Linked DNA regions of Homo sapiens: region 1 is linked to region 2. Evidence: promoter capture Hi-C in human tissues and cell types (Jung and others, 2019). All regions are on one chromosome and are shown on one strand. The core of a region is centred on a gene start or on the middle of the fragment in contact, and the rest is flanking DNA. Distances in the headings are between cores, read along the strand shown. Region 1 overlaps KMT2A (lysine methyltransferase 2A). Region 2 holds the start of MPZL3 (myelin protein zero like 3).

Evidence for each region. Contacts are between HindIII fragments. The study calls those that stand out against the background at their distance.
Region 1: a fragment that was not itself captured here is called in contact with the fragment with the promoter of MPZL3 in region 2 in 1 of the 25 tissues and cell types used here (hippocampus).

The regions. Positions count from the first base shown.
Region 1 is chr11:118,521,626-118,526,770 of GRCh38, forward strand. KMT2A (lysine methyltransferase 2A) reads left to right here. Exons shown (of 36, transcript NM_001197104.2): 36 at 272-5,145. The coding sequence ends at 547. All of the region lies in intron 1 of TTC36-AS1 (TTC36 and KMT2A antisense RNA 1), which reads right to left. Among named protein-coding and RNA genes, the nearest start is that of TTC36, 3.3 kb to the right of the region's middle. The HindIII fragment of the contact is 4,547 bases long and covers 1,187-5,145 here.
Region 2 is chr11:118,251,115-118,253,683 of GRCh38, forward strand. MPZL3 (myelin protein zero like 3) reads right to left here and starts at 1,251. Exons shown (of 6, transcript NM_198275.3): 1 at 1,108-1,251. The coding sequence starts at 1,180. It overlaps MPZL2 (myelin protein zero like 2), which reads right to left. Exons shown (of 6, transcript NM_005797.4): 6 at 2,302-2,569. RefSeq lists enhancers at 571-1,132, 734-783, 1,133-1,693. The HindIII fragment of the contact is 7,018 bases long and covers 1-2,569 here.

The DNA.
Region 1 (5,145 bases), core at 2,210-4,709, 270 kb after region 2:
TGAGTGGCTCCTAGTATCAGAAGCAAATAGCTATACAAGTTTTAGGTTTCTCTCTCCTGCAGAGACATTAGAAACCTCTAGACTAGTGGCCTGTAATCTAGGAAATCCTCGTGGAAGCATCTTGAAAGATAGTACTGGGAGAAATCTGGAAATTTTACTAGAAGAAACTTTCTCAGCCGCTATAGGTAACATCAAGAGAAGATTGGGACATGTTCTTAAAGCTGAGTTTATAAGAAATGACAAGTTCTTCTCCCTTCTTCTGCATGTGCAGGGCATTGGTTGCTATATGTTCCGAATTGATGACTCAGAGGTAGTGGATGCCACCATGCATGGAAATGCTGCACGCTTCATCAATCACTCGTGTGAGCCTAACTGCTATTCTCGGGTCATCAATATTGATGGGCAGAAGCACATTGTCATCTTTGCCATGCGTAAGATCTACCGAGGAGAGGAACTCACTTACGACTATAAGTTCCCCATTGAGGATGCCAGCAACAAGCTGCCCTGCAACTGTGGCGCCAAGAAATGCCGGAAGTTCCTAAACTAAAGCTGCTCTTCTCCCCCAGTGTTGGAGTGCAAGGAGGCGGGGCCATCCAAAGCAACGCTGAAGGCCTTTTCCAGCAGCTGGGAGCTCCCGGATTGCGTGGCACAGCTGAGGGGCCTCTGTGATGGCTGAGCTCTCTTATGTCCTATACTCACATCAGACATGTGATCATAGTCCCAGAGACAGAGTTGAGGTCTCGAAGAAAAGATCCATGATCGGCTTTCTCCTGGGGCCCCTCCAATTGTTTACTGTTAGAAAGTGGGAATGGGGTCCCTAGCAGACTTGCCTGGAAGGAGCCTATTATAGAGGGTTGGTTATGTTGGGAGATTGGGCCTGAATTTCTCCACAGAAATAAGTTGCCATCCTCAGGTTGGCCCTTTCCCAAGCACTGTAAGTGAGTGGGTCAGGCAAAGCCCCAAATGGAGGGTTGGTTAGATTCCTGACAGTTTGCCAGCCAGGCCCCACCTACAGCGTCTGTCGAACAAACAGAGGTCTGGTGGTTTTCCCTACTATCCTCCCACTCGAGAGTTCACTTCTGGTTGGGAGACAGGATTCCTAGCACCTCCGGTGTCAAAAGGCTGTCATGGGGTTGTGCCAATTAATTACCAAACATTGAGCCTGCAGGCTTTGAGTGGGAGTGTTGCCCCCAGGAGCCTTATCTCAGCCAATTACCTTTCTTGACAGTAGGAGCGGCTTCCCTCTCCCATTCCCTCTTCACTCCCTTTTCTTCCTTTCCCCTGTCTTCATGCCACTGCTTTCCCATGCTTCTTTCGGGTTGTAGGGGAGACTGACTGCCTGCTCAAGGACACTCCCTGCTGGGCATAGGATGTGCCTGCAAAAAGTTCCCTGAGCCTGTAAGCACTCCAGGTGGGGAAGTGGACAGGAGCCATTGGTCATAACCAGACAGAATTTGGAAACATTTTCATAAAGCTCCATGGAGAGTTTTAAAGAAACATATGTAGCATGATTTTGTAGGAGAGGAAAAAGATTATTTAAATAGGATTTAAATCATGCAACAACGAGAGTATCACAGCCAGGATGACCCTTGGGTCCCATTCCTAAGACATGGTTACTTTATTTTCCCCTTGTTAAGACATAGGAAGACTTAATTTTTAAACGGTCAGTGTCCAGTTGAAGGCAGAACACTAATCAGATTTCAAGGCCCACAACTTGGGGACTAGACCACCTTATGTTGAGGGAACTCTGCCACCTGCGTGCAACCCACAGCTAAAGTAAATTCAATGACACTACTGCCCTGATTACTCCTTAGGATGTGGTCAAAACAGCATCAAATGTTTCTTCTCTTCCTTTCCCCAAGACAGAGTCCTGAACCTGTTAAATTAAGTCATTGGATTTTACTCTGTTCTGTTTACAGTTTACTATTTAAGGTTTTATAAATGTAAATATATTTTGTATATTTTTCTATGAGAAGCACTTCATAGGGAGAAGCACTTATGACAAGGCTATTTTTTAAACCGCGGTATTATCCTAATTTAAAAGAAGATCGGTTTTTAATAATTTTTTATTTTCATAGGATGAAGTTAGAGAAAATATTCAGCTGTACACACAAAGTCTGGTTTTTCCTGCCCAACTTCCCCCTGGAAGGTGTACTTTTTGTTGTTTAATGTGTAGCTTGTTTGTGCCCTGTTGACATAAATGTTTCCTGGGTTTGCTCTTTGACAATAAATGGAGAAGGAAGGTCACCCAACTCCATTGGGCCACTCCCCTCCTTCCCCTATTGAAGCTCCTCAAAAGGCTACAGTAATATCTTGATACAACAGATTCTCTTCTTTCCCGCCTCTCTCCTTTCCGGCGCAACTTCCAGAGTGGTGGGAGACGGCAATCTTTACATTTCCCTCATCTTTCTTACTTCAGAGTTAGCAAACAACAAGTTGAATGGCAACTTGACATTTTTGCATCACCATCTGCCTCATAGGCCACTCTTTCCTTTCCCTCTGCCCACCAAGTCCTCATATCTGCAGAGAACCCATTGATCACCTTGTGCCCTCTTTTGGGGCAGCCTGTTGAAACTGAAGCACAGTCTGACCACTCACGATAAAGCAGATTTTTCTCTGCCTCTGCCACAAGGTTTCAGAGTAGTGTAGTCCAAGTAGAGGGTGGGGCACCCTTTTCTCGCCGCAAGAAGCCCATTCCTATGGAAGTCTAGCAAAGCAATACGACTCAGCCCAGCACTCTCTGCCCCAGGACTCATGGCTCTGCTGTGCCTTCCATCCTGGGCTCCCTTCTCTCCTGTGACCTTAAGAACTTTGTCTGGTGGCTTTGCTGGAACATTGTCACTGTTTTCACTGTCATGCAGGGAGCCCAGCACTGTGGCCAGGATGGCAGAGACTTCCTTGTCATCATGGAGAAGTGCCAGCAGGGGACTGGGAAAAGCACTCTACCCAGACCTCACCTCCCTTCCTCCTTTTGCCCATGAACAAGATGCAGTGGCCCTAGGGGTTCCACTAGTGTCTGCTTTCCTTTATTATTGCACTGTGTGAGGTTTTTTTGTAAATCCTTGTATTCCTATTTTTTTTAAAGAAAAAAAAAAAACCTTAAGCTGCATTTGTTACTGAAATGATTAATGCACTGATGGGTCCTGAATTCACCTTGAGAAAGACCCAAAGGCCAGTCAGGGGGTGGGGGGAACTCAGCTAAATAGACCTAGTTACTGCCCTGCTAGGCCATGCTGTACTGTGAGCCCCTCCTCACTCTCTACCAACCCTAAACCCTGAGGACAGGGGAGGAACCCACAGCTTCCTTCTCCTGCCAGCTGCAGATGGTTTGCCTTGCCTTTCCACCCCCTAATTGTCAACCACAAAAATGAGAAATTCCTCTTCTAGCTCAGCCTTGAGTCCATTGCCAAATTTTCAGCACACCTGCCAGCAACTTGGGGGAATAAGCGAAGGTTTCCCTACAAGAGGGAAAGAAGGCAAAAACGGCACAGCTATCTCCAAACACATCTGAGTTCATTTCAAAAGTGACCAAGGGAATCTCCGCACAAAAGTGCAGATTGAGGAATTGTGATGGGTCATTCCCAAGAATCCCCCAAGGGGCATCCCAAATCCCTGAGGAGTAACAGCTGCAAACCTGGTCAGTTCTCAGTGAGAGCCAGCTCACTTATAGCTTTGCTGCTAGAACCTGTTGTGGCTGCATTTCCTGGTGGCCAGTGACAACTGTGTAACCAGAATAGCTGCATGGCGCTGACCCTTTGGCCGGAACTTGGTCTCTTGGCTCCCTCCTTGGCCACCCACCACCTCTCGCACAGCCCCTCTGTTTTTACACCAATAACAAGAATTAAGGGGGAAGCCCTGGCAGCTATACGTTTTCAACCAGACTCCTTTGCCGGGACCCAGCCCGCCACCCTGCTCGCCTCCGTCAAACCCCCGGCCAATGCAGTGAGCACCATGTAGCTCCCTTGATTTAAAAAAAATAAAAAATAAAAAAAAAAGGAAAAAAAAATACAACACACACACAAAAATAAAAAAAATATTCTAATGAATGTATCTTTCTAAAGGACTGACGTTCAATCAAATATCTGAAAATACTAAAGGTCAAAACCTTGTCAGATGTTAACTTCTAAGTTCGGTTTGGGATTTTTTTTTTTTAATAGAAATCAAGTTGTTTTTGTTTTTAAGGAAAAGCGGGTCATTGCAAAGGGCTGGGTGTAATTTTATGTTTCATTTCCTTCATTTTAAAGCAATACAAGGTTATGGAGCAGATGGTTTTGTGCCGAATCATGAATACTAGTCAAGTCACACACTCTGGAAACTTGCAACTTTTTGTTTGTTTTGGTTTTCAAATAAATATAAATATGATATATATAGGAACTAATATAGTAATGCACCATGTAACAAAGCCTAGTTCAGTCCATGGCTTTTAATTCTCTTAACACTATAGATAAGGATTGTGTTACAGTTGCTAGTAGCGGCAGGAAGATGTCAGGCTCACTTTCCTCTGATTCCCGAAATGGGGGGAACCTCTAACCATAAAGGAATGGTAGAACAGTCCATTCCTCGGATCAGAGAAAAATGCAGACATGGTGTCACCTGGATTTTTTTCTGCCCATGAATGTTGCCAGTCAGTACCTGTCCTCCTTGTTTCTCTATTTTTGGTTATGAATGTTGGGGTTACCACCTGCATTTAGGGGAAAATTGTGTTCTGTGCTTTCCTGGTATCTTGTTCCGAGGTACTCTAGTTCTGTCTTTCAACCAAGAAAATAGAATTGTGGTGTTTCTTTTATTGAACTTTTAACAGTCTCTTTAGTAAATACAGGTAGTTGAATAATTGTTTCAAGAGCTCAACAGATGACAAGCTTCTTTTCTAGAAATAAGACATTTTTTGACAACTTTATCATGTATAACAGATCTGTTTTTTTTCCTTGTGTTCTTCCAAGCTTCTGGTTAGAGAAAAAGAGAAAAAAAAAAAAGGAAAATGTGTCTAAAGTCCATCAGTGTTAACTCCCTGTGACAGGGATGAAGGAAAATACTTTAATAGTTCAAAAAATAATAATGCTGAAAGCTCTCTACGAAAGACTGAATGTAAAAGTAAAAAGTGTACATAGTTGTAAAAAAAAGGAGTTTTTAAACATGTTTATTTTC
Region 2 (2,569 bases), core at 1-2,500:
GTGTGAAAGAGAGAGAGAGAGGACTGGGTTTATTAGGAGTGACAGTAGGCCAGCCTAAATATCATACTGCAAAGTAATTTAGCTTAAAAACTGGAGACTTATGATGACACAGGCAGCTGGGAGGGATCGGGGGTGTGCTGGCAACATGAATATTAGTCACCAGTTAAAAACTTTCCAGCCTTAACTGCTAAGATTTAGGACATCTGAAGTCTTTATATTAAACTATTTATATTTATATAATATTAAATATCTCTTTCAGAAATCCCCATTACCCTCAAGGAAATTTTATAAATTTAGCAATTCACTCTAATACTAGATATACTAATATTTTATTTCCCAGGAAGACACACATACACAAAATCCAGGAAATAATTGTACCTTAAGATGAAGGTAATTAGGCTGGATTGAAATTTATGCAATTTGAAAATTATATGAAAGCAAAACTCACCTAATTTTAAGATGTGAATGTCAGTGTGAATACCCTACTTCTGATATTACTTAATAAATTTTAACAGAATTTATATGCTCTTTCTTGTATTAAAAAAAGTTATGAAAATGCTAAAGCAGTTACTTTTTCATCGATATGCTTCTCTATAACGAATCACATCACATCCCTTCTGTGACTAGCAAATATTTCATTTTATAGACTACAATAATCACCTACAAAAAATAAAATTACCAACTGTCATGATTTTGTTTCCCAAAACTACTGGGGCAAACTACTGAATGCTAGAACTGTTTTCTTTCTAATCAGGGTATACAGCGCCCAAACGACAGCGGTCAACCACTGATAATAACACCACAAAATAACACCGGGTGCCCCCAAAGCCAGAGCTCTTTGTGGTTCCATCAAGTATGCTATCACCAAACTACAATGACAGGTCACGCAAGGTGAAAAAGCTCCCAAAGCTCAGGAAAGGACTGACAAAATACCAACTATCCTCAACGGGGTGGTGATGACATCGTCCCAACGTCCCGCTCCCTCCCTCCTTCCTTCCCAGAGCTATGCGGGGGCTTTCTGGAGACCCCCCTACCCGGAACCGGAAAAGCGACCATCTTCCCTAACCCCCCGGCCGGAAGTGGAGCGTAGCCAGCCGGAGCACTCACCCTGGAAGAACAGGACGCCCAGCAGAGGGAAGAGAGCGCAGCCACGGCTTCCAGCTGCTCCTCTCTGCTGCATCCCGGCAGCTCTTCAGATGCTTGCACACCTTGTTTACAGCTCCCGGTAACGACACAGGTAACACCGGAAGTGACGTCAGAGCAGGAGGCCGAGAGACAACTTAAATGGCGATCCGAAGTTACCATAGGAACCTGGCTTCTTTCCAGAACCACACCTGGTTTCACTGACCAGAGATTTATTAACTTTCAGGCGGGAGCTAAATGCTCTCTTTTGCTTGAAAATGAAGTAGGCTACGGACTTGGAATAATTACAATTTTGTTTTTATGGAATTCTGCAGAACTAAATAATTTTGATGCTCTGACTGCATGTCAGACATCGTTTTTACGTCTCGAGATTTAGTTGAAGGTTCTCAGAATACACTACTGTAAATTTAGAGTTCAGAAACACCTGGGAGATCATACAGTATAGATAAATATATATTAGGTGCTTGTAGTGATATGTGCCACAAGCCTCATTGGTTGGTGTCCTTTTTAGTGTAAGTATTGCAGCCTCCAAAATTGGGTGTTTATTAAATTACTTTTGGCGGTGGCAATGATGATCAAATCATTACAGCCTGTATTAGAGGAAAAGAGGAACTGGGATTTCTGTGTCTTTGGTTGGAAAAGTAAGAAAGTTATGTTATCACAGTACTTGAAGTGAGATGGCGTCACATACTTCTGAAAAAGAGATGGTACAATAAGTACACTGCTTTAATAATCAGTAAGCCTCTTCCCTGGAAATTGCCACATGTCAATGAAAGCAGGAGGAGAATAAAAGTATGCTTTCGCTTTGGGGAAGAATTAATAAGTTTCCATTTTTCAATTTCCATTCCTTTACTAGACTTGAAAGCCAGTAGTTTTCCCTATTAAAAGTGTAATGCAAAGTACTAAATAGAATCTTTGATACTTTTCTTTGAAAGAGCCCTCAAACTAAGTAGTGTTGTTATGCCCAATTCCCAGCTATCCAAAACAGTGTGAAAATTCTGTGGAAATCCGTATACTTCTGTTTACCCATTAGAAACTAACTGTATCCATTATTGACTTGCAGGTTGTCTCTACTAAGAAAACTTTTTGGTAAAGATTAAATATATATCCATCTGTTTTTCCTGCAATGTAGAACTTCTAGATATGTATATACACAAATTATATAACTGATAATTCTTTATTACTAAAGGTTTATTTACATAGTGTTTAAAGCATAATAAAAAATAAATTACAATACAAAAGTGCTCTTTAGGAAGGAGACACTAAACAACAGGCCCATATTACCCCTTGACTATTTAGCCAAGACATAAGCTACAAATTTTGCCGGAAAAACTGTCCATACATTTTTAACTACTTCTTCATTATTCTTATGGACCATCATCCAGGACATCTGTTTGAAGAAATATCCAGTTATAATATTTTCAAA